Regions from separate parts of the Homo sapiens genome. Here region 2 is linked to region 1. The links are contacts of gene promoters, found by promoter capture Hi-C in human tissues and cell types (Jung and others, 2019). All regions are on one chromosome and are shown on one strand. Each heading gives the region's core, a stretch centred on a gene start or on the middle of the fragment in contact. The rest is flanking DNA. Distances are from core to core; before and after follow the strand shown. Region 1 holds the start of SFRP2 (secreted frizzled related protein 2). Region 2 overlaps DCHS2 (dachsous cadherin-related 2).

Region 1 (5,940 bases), core at 1,124-3,623:
AACAAATAAATAAACCTGTTTCTGAAGCTAATCAAAGACGAAGCAAAAATGGTTTAGTGGTCTGATCAAACTTAGGGATTGTATACTAGCACAATTATCAGAAGACCTGCTAAAAGCTCTTCTAAGAGTTTGATTTCTTGGGAGAAGTAAAAAAAAAAAAAAAAGAACAATTATATTGCCCTTCTCTCATTTATAAATGTGTTAATTATGTCTTTAAAATTTAGGTGAAATGAGATTTTCACTAATGTGAAATTTAATGTTCATAGAAAACTATGTGACTTAATAGAAGCGTTATTTATCAAATTAGAAAAATCACAAAGCTGGAATTTTGAAGAACATAAACTTTTATTTTGAAGGAGAAAAGTGGCTTTTTGGAGAAATGTAAGATGCGTAATGTTGCTGCTGATAGTGGGAAGAAATAAAAGCAACATACATAAAACTGCCCTTAAGTCCCCTCACCCAAACAAAATCAAACATTTCCAATTAGGAGCTCTCAGGATGTATATAAAATATTACTAACCTGTATTGGTTGGTCTATGGTACATGTTGGACAAATGTTTGAAAAATGCCAAACATTTGCAATAAATTAGAAATCTAACCAATAAGATGATTGCAAACTCATGGTCCCTGCCAGGAAAGATTGCTAAAGAACTTTGCATTTGCTTTAACTAATGATGTCTGTAGGAAAACTACTAGAGATTGAAAGGGAGAGGCTGCTGAAGCCCTGAAAGGGATTAGGAAGCTCCCTTTTCCAACCCAGGGGACCCAAATCAGCTCAGAGGCATTGTATATGTTTTCCTTTCAGAAAAAATATTGAGAGCCCATGAGGTTTTCATTGCTTTGATGGTTTTTGCACAGGAACTCTCCCTCCGTTTTCTAAAAACTTGGGAATCTCTTTTGCATGATTTTCTCCAGCTAATCAAAACCACTCCTAAGTTAAAAACTGATAGCAATAGAAAAGTGATTTCCAGAGATTCCCTTTATGCCCTCTTCCTCAAGTATCTGAGCAGTTACAACCAATGTTCAATTTTCCACACACTCCGTGCCAGTCCCGGTTTTATTTCCAAAATCTAAATTGACAAAGGACAAAAAGACCCTTAAAAGGTTATCTACTTGTGCATCCTGGTTTTCCTTTCTGTACAGGAAATGTTCCTGTGACTAGAATCCTGCCCAGTGGTAGGAAGGTGCAGAATGAGGCTGAGCGAGGGGCCTCTGGCCAGAATGCTCACCACAAACTCCTCCACCAAACACCACTTCCAACGCTCTGCGCAGCTCCAGTGCTAGCATCTTTAACAATAATCGTGTATCTATTTTTTTTTAAACCGCCGTTCAGTTCTTCGTTTTTTTAGTTTTGTTGTTTTTGTTTGTTTGTTTTATTTTTAAACTGCCCTTAAGTATAGCTGGTACAACTCGGGAGGAGAATGCGCGAGACTTGGGCGGCGTGGGAGGGGTGCCTCAAATTTGATACAGGCTTGTTGTGATGACAGACCAGGTCAGGCAGAACTTCTGCCCTTCCCGCTACTGGCACCCCAAGCAGGGATGCACTGGGATGCGTGGCAGGGGCGGGATCTCCTGGGAGCGTCTCAGCCCAGCAGGGAGTGGGGAAGCAAGAGGGAAGGCTTACCTTCCTCGGTGGCTGGCAGGAGGTGGTCGCTGCTAGCGAGGGGGATGCAAAGGTCGTTGTCCTGGGGGAAACGGTCGCACTCAAGCATGTCGGGCCAGGGGAAGCCGAAGGCGGACATGACCGGGGCGCAGCGGTCCTTCACCTGCACGCAGAGCGAGTGGCATGGCTGGATGGTCTCGTCTAGGTCATCGAGGCAGACGGGGGCGAAGAGCGAGCACAGGAACTTCTTGGTGTCCGGGTGGCACTGCTTCATGACCAGCGGGATCCAAGCGCCGGCCTGCTCCAGCACCTCCTTCATGGTCTCGTGGCCCAGCAGGTTGGGCAGCCGCATGTTCTGGTATTCGATGCCGTGGCACAGCTGCAGGTTGGCAGGGATGGGCTTGCAATTGCTGCGCTTGTAGGAGAAGTCGGGCTGGCCAAAGAGGAAGAGCCCGCGCGCCGAGCCCAGGCAGCAGTGCGAGGCGAGGAAGAGCAGCAGCAGCGAGCCAGGGCCCTGCAGCATCGTGGGCGCGCGACCCCGAGGGGGCAGAGGGAGCGGAGCCGGGGAAGGGCGAGGCGGCCGGAGTTCGAGCTTGTCCCGGGCCCGCTCTCTTCGCTGGGTGCGACTCGGGGCCCCGAAAAGCTGGCAGCCGGCGGCTGGGGCGCGGAGAAGCGGGACACCGGGAGGACAGCGCGGGCGAGGCGCTGCAAGCCCGCGCGCAGCTCCGGGGGGCTCCGACCCGGGGGAGCAGAATGAGCCGTTGCTGGGGCACAGCCAGAGTTTTCTTGGCCTTTTTTATGCAAATCTGGAGGGTGGGGGGAGCAAGGGAGGAGCCAATGAAGGGTAATCCGAGGAGGGCTGGTCACTACTTTCTGGGTCTGGTTTTGCGTTGAGAATGCCCCTCACGCGCTTGCTGGAAGGGAATTCTGGCTGCGCCCCCTCCCCTAGATGCCGCCGCTCGCCCGCCCTAGGATTTCTTTAAACAACAAACAGAGAAGCCTGGCCGCTGCGCCCCCACAGTGAGCGAGCAGGGCGCGGGCTGCGGGAGTGGGGGGCACGCAGGGCACCCCGCGAGCGGCCTCGCGACCAGGTACTGGCGGGAACGCGCCTAGCCCCGCGTGCCGCCGGGGCCCGGGCTTGTTTTGCCCCAGTCCGAAGTTTCTGCTGGGTTGCCAGGCATGAGTGGGAGAGGGTGTGTGTGTGTGTGTGTGTGTGTGTGTGTGTGTGTGTGTGTGTGTTGGGGGGCTGCGTCCCTGGTAGCCGCGTGTGCCCTGTGATGGAGCCCGGGACCTGCCCGCCCGAGGCCGCCTCGGCGAACTTCGTTTTCCCTCGAATCTCCAGCCACCGTTCAGCAGCCTGTCGGTGTGCTCCCCAATGCCGTAAAAAAATCAGAATTATAAATATATTCGTATGAGCAGAACTTTACATGGAAAACGAAATACTAATAAAATGGGCTTGTTATTCTGTTGGAGTGAGTGCCTAGGAAGGGTTTCGTCGTTGTAGAAACGCCCCTACAAGAGTCTCACCAGTCACACAGGACTGCCCACCATTTCCCCGTTTTGGAGAGATTTTTCCTTCTTAAATGAATGGCATGACTCAATACTCGAAGGCATCACGGGCTCTAACACACAGCCGCCCTTGCAGCTGTGCGCTCTGGAAAGCTGGAGTATGGGCCCCCAGGGCACTGTTTGTAAAGACTGGTGGCCGGCACAAAAGACGGGCACAAAAGATGGGCAGGCTGGGAGGGAGCGAGGTAGAGGAAGGAGTCCTGCCTAGAGATCCACGAGGGCTAGAATTAGCTCATTCATCCCCTACGTACCAGGGGGCACCATGCTGGGCGCTGGATGTGCAGAAATGAACAAACAGGCCGGCCTCTGCTCTCGTGGAGCCTGGGATCTAGTGTCTCTGACTGCAAACAGTAAGTTCTGGGTTGGGGGGTGGGCTCCTTTTGCCTAATTGTCCCTAGTCTCCCTATGGGGACAGGAGGCCTTCGCTCTCCTCAGCCGCTGTCTCCGGGTGGCTGTGAAGATCCAAAGAGATAATCCCCGGAGGGCGAAGTTCTTTCATATGTAAGGTGGGCGCATTGTTATTACTTCCCGACCACTTAAGAGTCATTCACAGGCTCAGACCCCGGCTTCCTAATTTCCCTCCTTCCGGAAGATGCGTTGGCCTTGGCGGCTCCCAGGCCCAAGTTATCAGGCACACTTTGCGGTCCAGCTGCTTAGAGGAGCCGGGTAATGAATGAATGGGTGGCAAAAGCCCACTCAGTGTTATCTGCTGACCGTAAACACGCCAGGAAAATCGTCATCTGGAGAGAATGCACATTCTGAACTCCAAGAATCTGCGTCCCTAAGAGCCCAGCTTCCGGGTGCTCTGCTGGGGAAGGGCCCGGGGTAGCTGCAAAAGGCCTCTCTTTCCCCAAATTGGTTCAGGGCCTTTTCGTCTCTAACGAAAGCACCAAGAGGCCTAAAAGCCCCCTTCCCAACATAAACTACTTTGCAATGAAACCACAAAGGAAACAGAAGCACACCAAAAGAAAGAGCTAATAAAGAGCGTGAGCTCTGAGAGATGCTACGACTTGGGCCTGGGAGTGGGATAAGGGCCCTCTCGCTTTCACGCCCCCCCAACCCCCCGCCGGCCCCGGCCAACCCCTAAATCCCCAACGCCCTCCGCTGGGGTCGCCTCCTCCCCGCAGAGCCCCTTGTTGGGAGTTCAAGGAGCCCGAAGCTGGTCTGGCTGGTTTGAGCCCCGCGCTGCCGCACGCCCGGAAGTGGCTGGCGGCCCCCGCGCTCCGCGCGCCGGCTGCATTGTTTTGGGAGCCCTCGCTGCCCGGCTTGCCGCCAGGAGGTGCTGGGAGTCGCGCCTGAGTCTCCATCCCTGCCGTGCGCAGTGTCCACCTCTGGCCAGCTTGTTTGCCCGGCCCGCGGCGTCCCCTGCGGCCCATCGCTGCTCCTCCCGGAACCCACGCCACTTAGTCTGGTCCCGACCCTGCACTCGCTGCTGCTGCCTTTCCCACCTCAAGTCGCTCTCCCCACTCCCTTCTGCTTTTGGGCTAAGACCGGTCCAATTGATCACTGGGGAACAGGGCAATAACCTCCCGCGGAGGCTGGGACGCGGGCACGGAGCTCTGCCCATATGAGCAGCGCAGGGATGGGACACTGGGTGCCCATCCCAGCGCGCCTCCCCAGACTGGTCCCTGGGATGCTCACACGTGGCGCGGCACCGCGGCGGCGCCTTCACGAACCCAGACTCTTCTCTGCTGCCAGTTGACCTCAGGTCCACAGGTCTCCTTCGATCCTTGCAATTGATCAAAACCCACCAAAGGCTTTTATTTGTACCAATGGACCGTCCATGTTTACCCCCTCCCTGCCCATTTAAGGCACGGAAAATCTATTCACCCAAGCCCAGGGTAAGTGATGGTGGATGCCCACTCCACCGGGCATCTTGCTTAAAGGGGGCTGCCCATAGGTCCCTGGAGAGGGGCTTGGTCCAGAACACACACAGAATGAACATCATCCCACCCCAATGCTGCAGGTCTACGGAAGAGCCTCGACCTCCCGTATCCTGGGTTTGGCTCTGCTTCTCTGCTTGAGTGTTTCCTGTGCTCAGGGCACTGAAGAAGCTTGAGGCACAAAGAAAGCCCCCAGCAATCTCTCCAGAACAATTTGGCTTCTTGTTTAAACCTGTGCTGGCTACAAGAGTTTCTGGACAGGCAAGACCTTCACTCTCACGTTCAGATTCTGTCCTGTCAGGGAGTCCGCTTGGCCTCCGCGAAGAGCTGGGAAAAGCGAGCCTCCCACCCCCACTCTCAAGTAGTAAAATCAAAGCGGATGGACCCTTATTTCTGAGGAGTGAAAGCGAGAAGAACGATGCGTGTAAAATGCTAGTTCCTTAATTCACACAATCCAGCACCGGCTCCCGGATGATCATTTTGCACACAAGCAGTCACTGGGAAACTGAGGCATGGAGAGGTTAAGTAACGAACCGGGCCACACCGTAAGTGGTACAGCTGCTGACGTTACATGTGCCTCGGTGAGGTGAAGTGACTACCGGGCTAGCCTTGGGGACCTGTCGCGACTTGTCGGGTGTCTCCAACCGCGTTGCCGCCTGGCTTTCAGCCGTGCGCTGGCCAGCCGGGCGGGTGACGTCACCTCTCCCCGGGTCCGTGCACCCAGGCCTTCCCTGCTCCGGGTGAGTATTTTTTCATGGGATTCAGCCATCTGGGGGCGCCATTTCCCAAAACAGAGATTGTCCCTTTGAGGTTGCAAGTCAGGTTCCTTTACGCTGAGATCCCTTACATTTTTACTTTTAGGAAGGTTTTTTCGAGGGGTGGGGG
Region 2 (5,940 bases), core at 2,005-4,504, 510 kb after region 1:
TTGAGCCTGACAGGGGGTACAGGCTGCAGTGAGCTGTGATTGTGCTGCTGCGGTGAGCTGTGAATGCACCACTGCACAGCCTTGGTGACAGATCGAGAGCCTGTCTTTAAAAAAAAAGAAAAGAAAATGAAAATGGGAAGGTTAGGAGTCATAGTAATCTACTTGCGCAACAAGGGGTATCTGAAACAATATTTGCGTGCAGGAAGTGAACACATTGCAAAGATATTAAGGAGAAAAAATAAGTTATGGAGAAAGGATTCATGATCCGGCTTAGGCGAATAAGTGAAGGGTGTTTAGACCAGTCAATCATCTTTAAAATGAGGGCTGAGTACAGCTAGGTTACTTGAAGTTTTCTAAGGAATTCACTTGGAAACAGGTAGTTCTGTGGTAATCTCCAGAAGTTCAATTTAAATATCCTTATTCCTAAAATTGCTCTACCTGAGAGCTCACCTGGGATCATGGAATTTATCTTTCCCACATTCACCTTTATAAGCACTCTTCTTGCAAATTAAAAAAGAAAGTCTCCCTCTCACCCAAATAAATGGCTGCCAAATAAAGTGGTCATTCCCAATGTTGAAAGTTCAATGTCAAAACAGTGACTGATTTTAATGCCTGGGAAGATATCCTTATGCAGTGGGAGAGTGTCTCTGCTATCAACCAAATTATAGAGCCTATTCAAGTTTTCAAGTGGTAGATAAAGAAAAAATAAAGACTATTCATTAACTTTTTGGCATATAACTCAGAAGGCATACAAGTACTAAATTAACTTCTGTAACAATACTTCCATTTTTAAAAAGGTGAGCAAGGATTTTCAGTTCTTACATCTGTAACAAAGAGAAACAGCAACAGACTTGGCACTGTGCTTTGCCTTTTGCCTTATTTTTATTTATTTATTTATTTATTTTTATTTTTATTTTTTGAGACAGAGTTTCGTTCTTGTTGCCCAGGCTGGAGTGCAATGGCGCAATCTCAGCTCACCTCAACCTCTGCCTACCGGGTTCAAGCGATTCTCCTGCCTCAGCCTCCCGAGTAGCTGGGATTACAGGCATGTGCCACTGGCTAATTTTGTATTTTTAGTAGAGACGAGGTTTCTCCATGTTGGTCAGGCTGGTCTCAAATTAACTCCAGACCTCAGGTGATCTGCCCACCTTGGCATCCCAAAGTGGTGGGATTACAGGCGTGAGCCACTGCACCCAGCTGCTTTGCCTTATTTTAGCAAAAAGGAACATGCATTCCGAGAATCATGAACTCACTGGAAAAAAGGAACCCATTAATCTGATTCAGAGATGCATTTACAACACAATTTTACTTTTTATGTTATTATTGGTCAAAATTGGAATACACTTTTGCTATTTTAATCTTACAATCATAATAATAACAATCTAATATAATTTTCAAAACTGAGACCTTATGTTCATTGGAAATTTTTAGAAGTCTTAAATTTATCCACATATTTTAATTGTAGAAAAGTATAATAAAATGATCAATATTTTAAGCATAAAAGTCCATTACGTTATGGTAAAATTCTGCAAGGATGTAGAAAGGTAATATTGATTGAAGAAGTAAAAATGCAAAACATATAACTGAAAATGCTCATTCATACATATAATTGAAAAAAACTTAAGTAAAATTCTACATTTTTATTAACTTAAAAAAATCATATTTCAAACAGTAGAGTCTGTGAGCTATGAAAATTTACAATTCACTTGGCATTCCCAGCGCCTTGCGCTCCCTGTGACTGCGCTGTGCAGGCGTCTTGGTTTGTGCAGGGTGGTTCTCATCCTTGCCAGCATCCCCTTCCCCTTTCTCCCCTTACACACCTCACTCCCTTCTTTGCCGAGTTGTGGGGGCTGTTTTAGGCCTGGCTTTTGTTTTTGGAAGGGCAGGTTTAGCAGACAACCCTGCCTATCTCCTGTGTGGCTCCTCTATCACCTTTGCTGTGTCACCTTTTTAGCCGATTTCCTGGGCATGGTGGCTTGGCAGGCAGCTTTGCCAATCCAAGGTATGCTCTCTGCTCCTGGAAAGATTTCTGAGTCCCACAGCCATCCGAGGGCTACGGAGCTCCCAGTTTCCAACCTGGCTGAGAAGGTGGCCTCAGCTTGGGCAGAACAGGTGGAGACTTTGGGACCATGAAGAGACATGCAGAGCCAGGAAAGAGGAAGGTGACACAAGGGGAGGATGCCTTTCATATATATATACTTATATATATTTCATATATATATACTTATATATATACACACATATATGAAATATATATACGTGTATATATACACACATATGAAATATATATACGTGTATATATACACACATATATATGAAATAGATATACGTATACACACACACACACACACACACACACACACACCCACACACACACATATTTTTTTTTTTTTTTGAGACAAAGTCTCACTCTTTTCCCCCAGGAGGGAGTGCAATGGCACAATCTCAGCTCACTGCAACCTCTGCCTCCTAAGTTCAAGTGATTCTCCTGCCTCAGTCTCCCAAGTAGCTGGGATTACAGGTGCCTGCCACCACACCCAGCTAATTTTTGTATTTTTAGTAGAGGTGGGGTTTCACCATGTTGGCCAGGCTGGTCTCGAACTCCTGACCTCAGGTGATCCGCCCACGTTGGCCTCCCAAAGTGCTGGGATGACAGCCATGACCCACCGTACCTGGACACCTTTCATATATTTTTAAGGTTTTTTTATTCTATCAAATACTTTTAAAAGGTGATTGATATAACAGTCTTATTTTAATGTGTCAATATTTAGGATATGCTGGGAAACACACCTTTGTTACTCTTTAAAAAAAGTTTAGTTGACAACATAAAAATATGTCTGCGTACATAAGTTTTCAAGATTATTTTAAGGGTAAGTGAAGCAAAAAAAAAAAAAAAAAAAAGCTGAAGATCACTGGCAGAGACTAGCAGAAGGACCCAGACCATGATGGGGGAGGTAGAAAGGGGGTGAGGCTGATGTGTCATTTTGGACACACTGATAATGCAATGCTGTTGGATATAAAGACTGGGTCCTTGGGGCTGTTAGGAAATTGTGAAATAATTTGAAATAGGAGGAACAAGGTTAGTAGGTGTCCTGGTATTGAAGAAAGAAGGGTGGGGCACAGGTGTCCAGTGTGTCTTTGCCATCAGAATGTTCTTCCACCTTCACCGCATTTTGACCACTCTGTAAATTGTTGAAAACTGATAATAATGTAAATGATTCTTATCCACAGAAATGCAAGTAAATCTGGTGAAATGCACTGATTGTTGTCTTGCAAATACACCTTTTCTGCATTTCAGAATTCCTTATTCCCTTTGTGTGTGTATGTGCCTGTGTATGGCTCTTGGAATTCTCCTTGAACCCATTTTAACATCTTTTTGGTTTACTTATTCATTAGTGAATTAAATAAAAGTTATTCGCAGGTACCATTTTTATATTTGTATGAGAGTTATTACTTTACTTTTAAAAACAATATCCTTTAACGGGACCTAGATCTAGGATGCAGATGGAGATGGGAGCCATTGGCATCCCAGTGGTAGCTAAAGACAGAGACTGGATGAAATGACCCAGTAAGAATCTGTCTATGAGACAAGAAAAATTAAAAAAAATTAAAACTGATCACATGAAAGCAACAAAAATAGAAAAACACTATCTTTTCCATCCTTACATCCACTAATGTTAGCATAGAAAAAAATTCACAGCAGTTTGCAAAGGCAGATTTTTAAAGAATGTGGAGAGCAGTGGTTCAAGGTGGCTGTGAGAAGGAGGTAGAGAGAAAGCTCATGGCACCAGTCAGTTCTGACTGGGTGTGTATTTTGTAGAGAAAAGCAACAGGTATCAAACACAGAGTAATCAACAGAGAGTGTGTGTCAACTCAGTCAGCATCCTGGAATAAATTTTAATTTAAAAATACTTACCAATTTGGGAGGCTGAGGCACAAGAATTGCTTGAACCTGGGAGGTGAAGTTGCAGTGAGCCATCGCGCCACTGCACTCCAGCCTGGGTGACAGAGTGAGACTCTGTCTTAAAAAAACAAACAAACAAACAAACAAACAAACAAACTTACCAATTATGTGATATTCAACAGCTCTGTTATTGCCAGCATCCATATCAGAGGCTAAAACCGTATAGACAACCTCTGGTTCCTGGTTTTCCAGAACCTCAATGTCATAACTGGAAACAATAAACTCTGGTGCGTGATCGTTTTCATCTTCAACAGTGCAGAGGATTGTTGTGGTGCTGGACAATGAAGGGAATCCCCCATCTCGTACTAGTACTGACACAGAACACAAAGACGGTATGAATTGTGGCCTTTGATTCATACCTAAAATATGTTGTTCTAACTAGACAATGTCAGGCTAACCAGGTAGCACTGGCTCAATAATATTTTATTTAAAAACACCCCAACAAAATATAACATTTCACCACTTAACAGGTTTTTTTTAAATTTAATTTTTAATTTTTATTTTTTAGCCTACTCAAAGAATCCCTTACCTCGAAGGGTGAAGACTTCTTGAATTTCTCTGTCAAGTATGGTGGTTGTCACTACCTCTCCAGTGTCAGAATTTATCTCGAATAATTCAAATGAAGCACCTGGCATGATTTCAAACTGAAGCTTGGAATTGACTCCTTAAGAAAAATATAAAGAAAAACTTAGCAATCATTTCTTTGAAATACATTTATCCACTTTCCTATTTCTTTTCCTTTGAACATGTTAGGCCATAGATGAAAATGGCAAGATTCTCAAACAGCCTTTAAATTAAGGTAAAAGAAAACCTCTTTTGGCTGTTCTTGCTAAAATAAAAGCCTCATGGGCTGAAATGCTTGATTTTCAAAAGTCTTATGAGACTTCCCCACAGTGAATGCTTAGAATTTTTTCCTTCCCATAAAAAATTTCTTATGAGTGTGCAACTCTACAACATATTCCTAATTACTCCTTCTAACACCTCTGATTGTGATTTAATGACTTAATTGTAAGCTTGCAGGGCAAATGACAATTTCTGTAGATTGACCTGCTGTTTAAAAGCCCGTGCTAAGTTATAGAACTCTGTTTATTCTCAACCTCAAGAAGCGAGCACCTAGAATTGCTTATACACGTATTTCTGTTTGTTTTGTTTTCGACTTAGTGTTCAGTCTGCTATCTGGAGTGAGAAATGTGGTACCACATTATTATGCATTTTGGAAATAATTCTTCCCATATTTTTGTGGTTTCATTTCTCCCCTGAGAAAAGTATCACGTCATTTCCATCTCTGGTTATGAAGATCATTCATACTACTAATTTTAATGAGTCTGTCCCATGCCATTGTAATTTATTGCATTTTACACAAGTTCCTCTCAGTTATTTTCCTATGTTCCTTTCTTAACTGACAAGAATCTAGGTGTACACACAGTACTGAGAATATATGATGTTATACTTTAATAAAAGACGAAATGTCATTCTTTTGGCCTTAACAAAAAATCTTCAATTACAAATTTCCATCTTGCCAGTCTTAAAAAGTAAATTTTCATTACATTATGATCTGGCAGATATTATATAGGACTGAGAGCTGAAAGGAGTGAAATAGAATTCTAGTTTTATATAAGAATGAAAATACATATCATATTACTATATAACTTGGAGGAGAAATATATTTGAGATATAATCTGCAGGCATTGGAATGACCCTGAGAAAAAAAGTCTAATAACATAGGACCAATGTATTTGATATGACATGGTCAGAGGTCACCAAAATGTTTCATTCTATTATTAGGCATTACGTATATTATTAATGATATTACTAAAGAGTCATAGTGATTATTTCAGTAACTTAAGGATCATATAATCTATTCTATAGCAAGACAGAATTTCTTAAAGTTCCAGGTTGTTAAAATTTGTTATTCCTATCTCTGCCTACATTATAAAAATGGGAACAATATTATCTTATATTTACTTTCCTTTTCC

The links. Contacts are between HindIII fragments. The study calls those that stand out against the background at their distance.
Region 2: a fragment that was not itself captured here is called in contact with the fragment with the promoter of SFRP2 in region 1 in 1 of the 25 tissues and cell types used here (dorsolateral prefrontal cortex).

What each region holds. Positions count from the first base shown.
Region 1 is chr4:153,786,710-153,792,649 of GRCh38, forward strand. It overlaps SFRP2 (secreted frizzled related protein 2), which reads right to left and starts at 2,374. Exons shown (of 3, transcript NM_003013.3): 1 at 1,625-2,374. The coding sequence starts at 2,126. RefSeq lists enhancers at 2,518-2,687, 2,602-3,303, 3,304-4,005, 4,267-4,436, 5,410-5,940 and 1 more. The HindIII fragment of the contact is 9,313 bases long and covers 1-5,940 here.
Region 2 is chr4:154,300,604-154,306,543 of GRCh38, forward strand. DCHS2 (dachsous cadherin-related 2) reads right to left here. Exons shown (of 20, transcript NM_001358235.2): 11 at 4,494-4,628; 12 at 4,066-4,275. Among named protein-coding and RNA genes, the nearest start is that of DCHS2, 190 kb to the right of the region's middle. The HindIII fragment of the contact is 3,082 bases long and covers 1,714-4,795 here.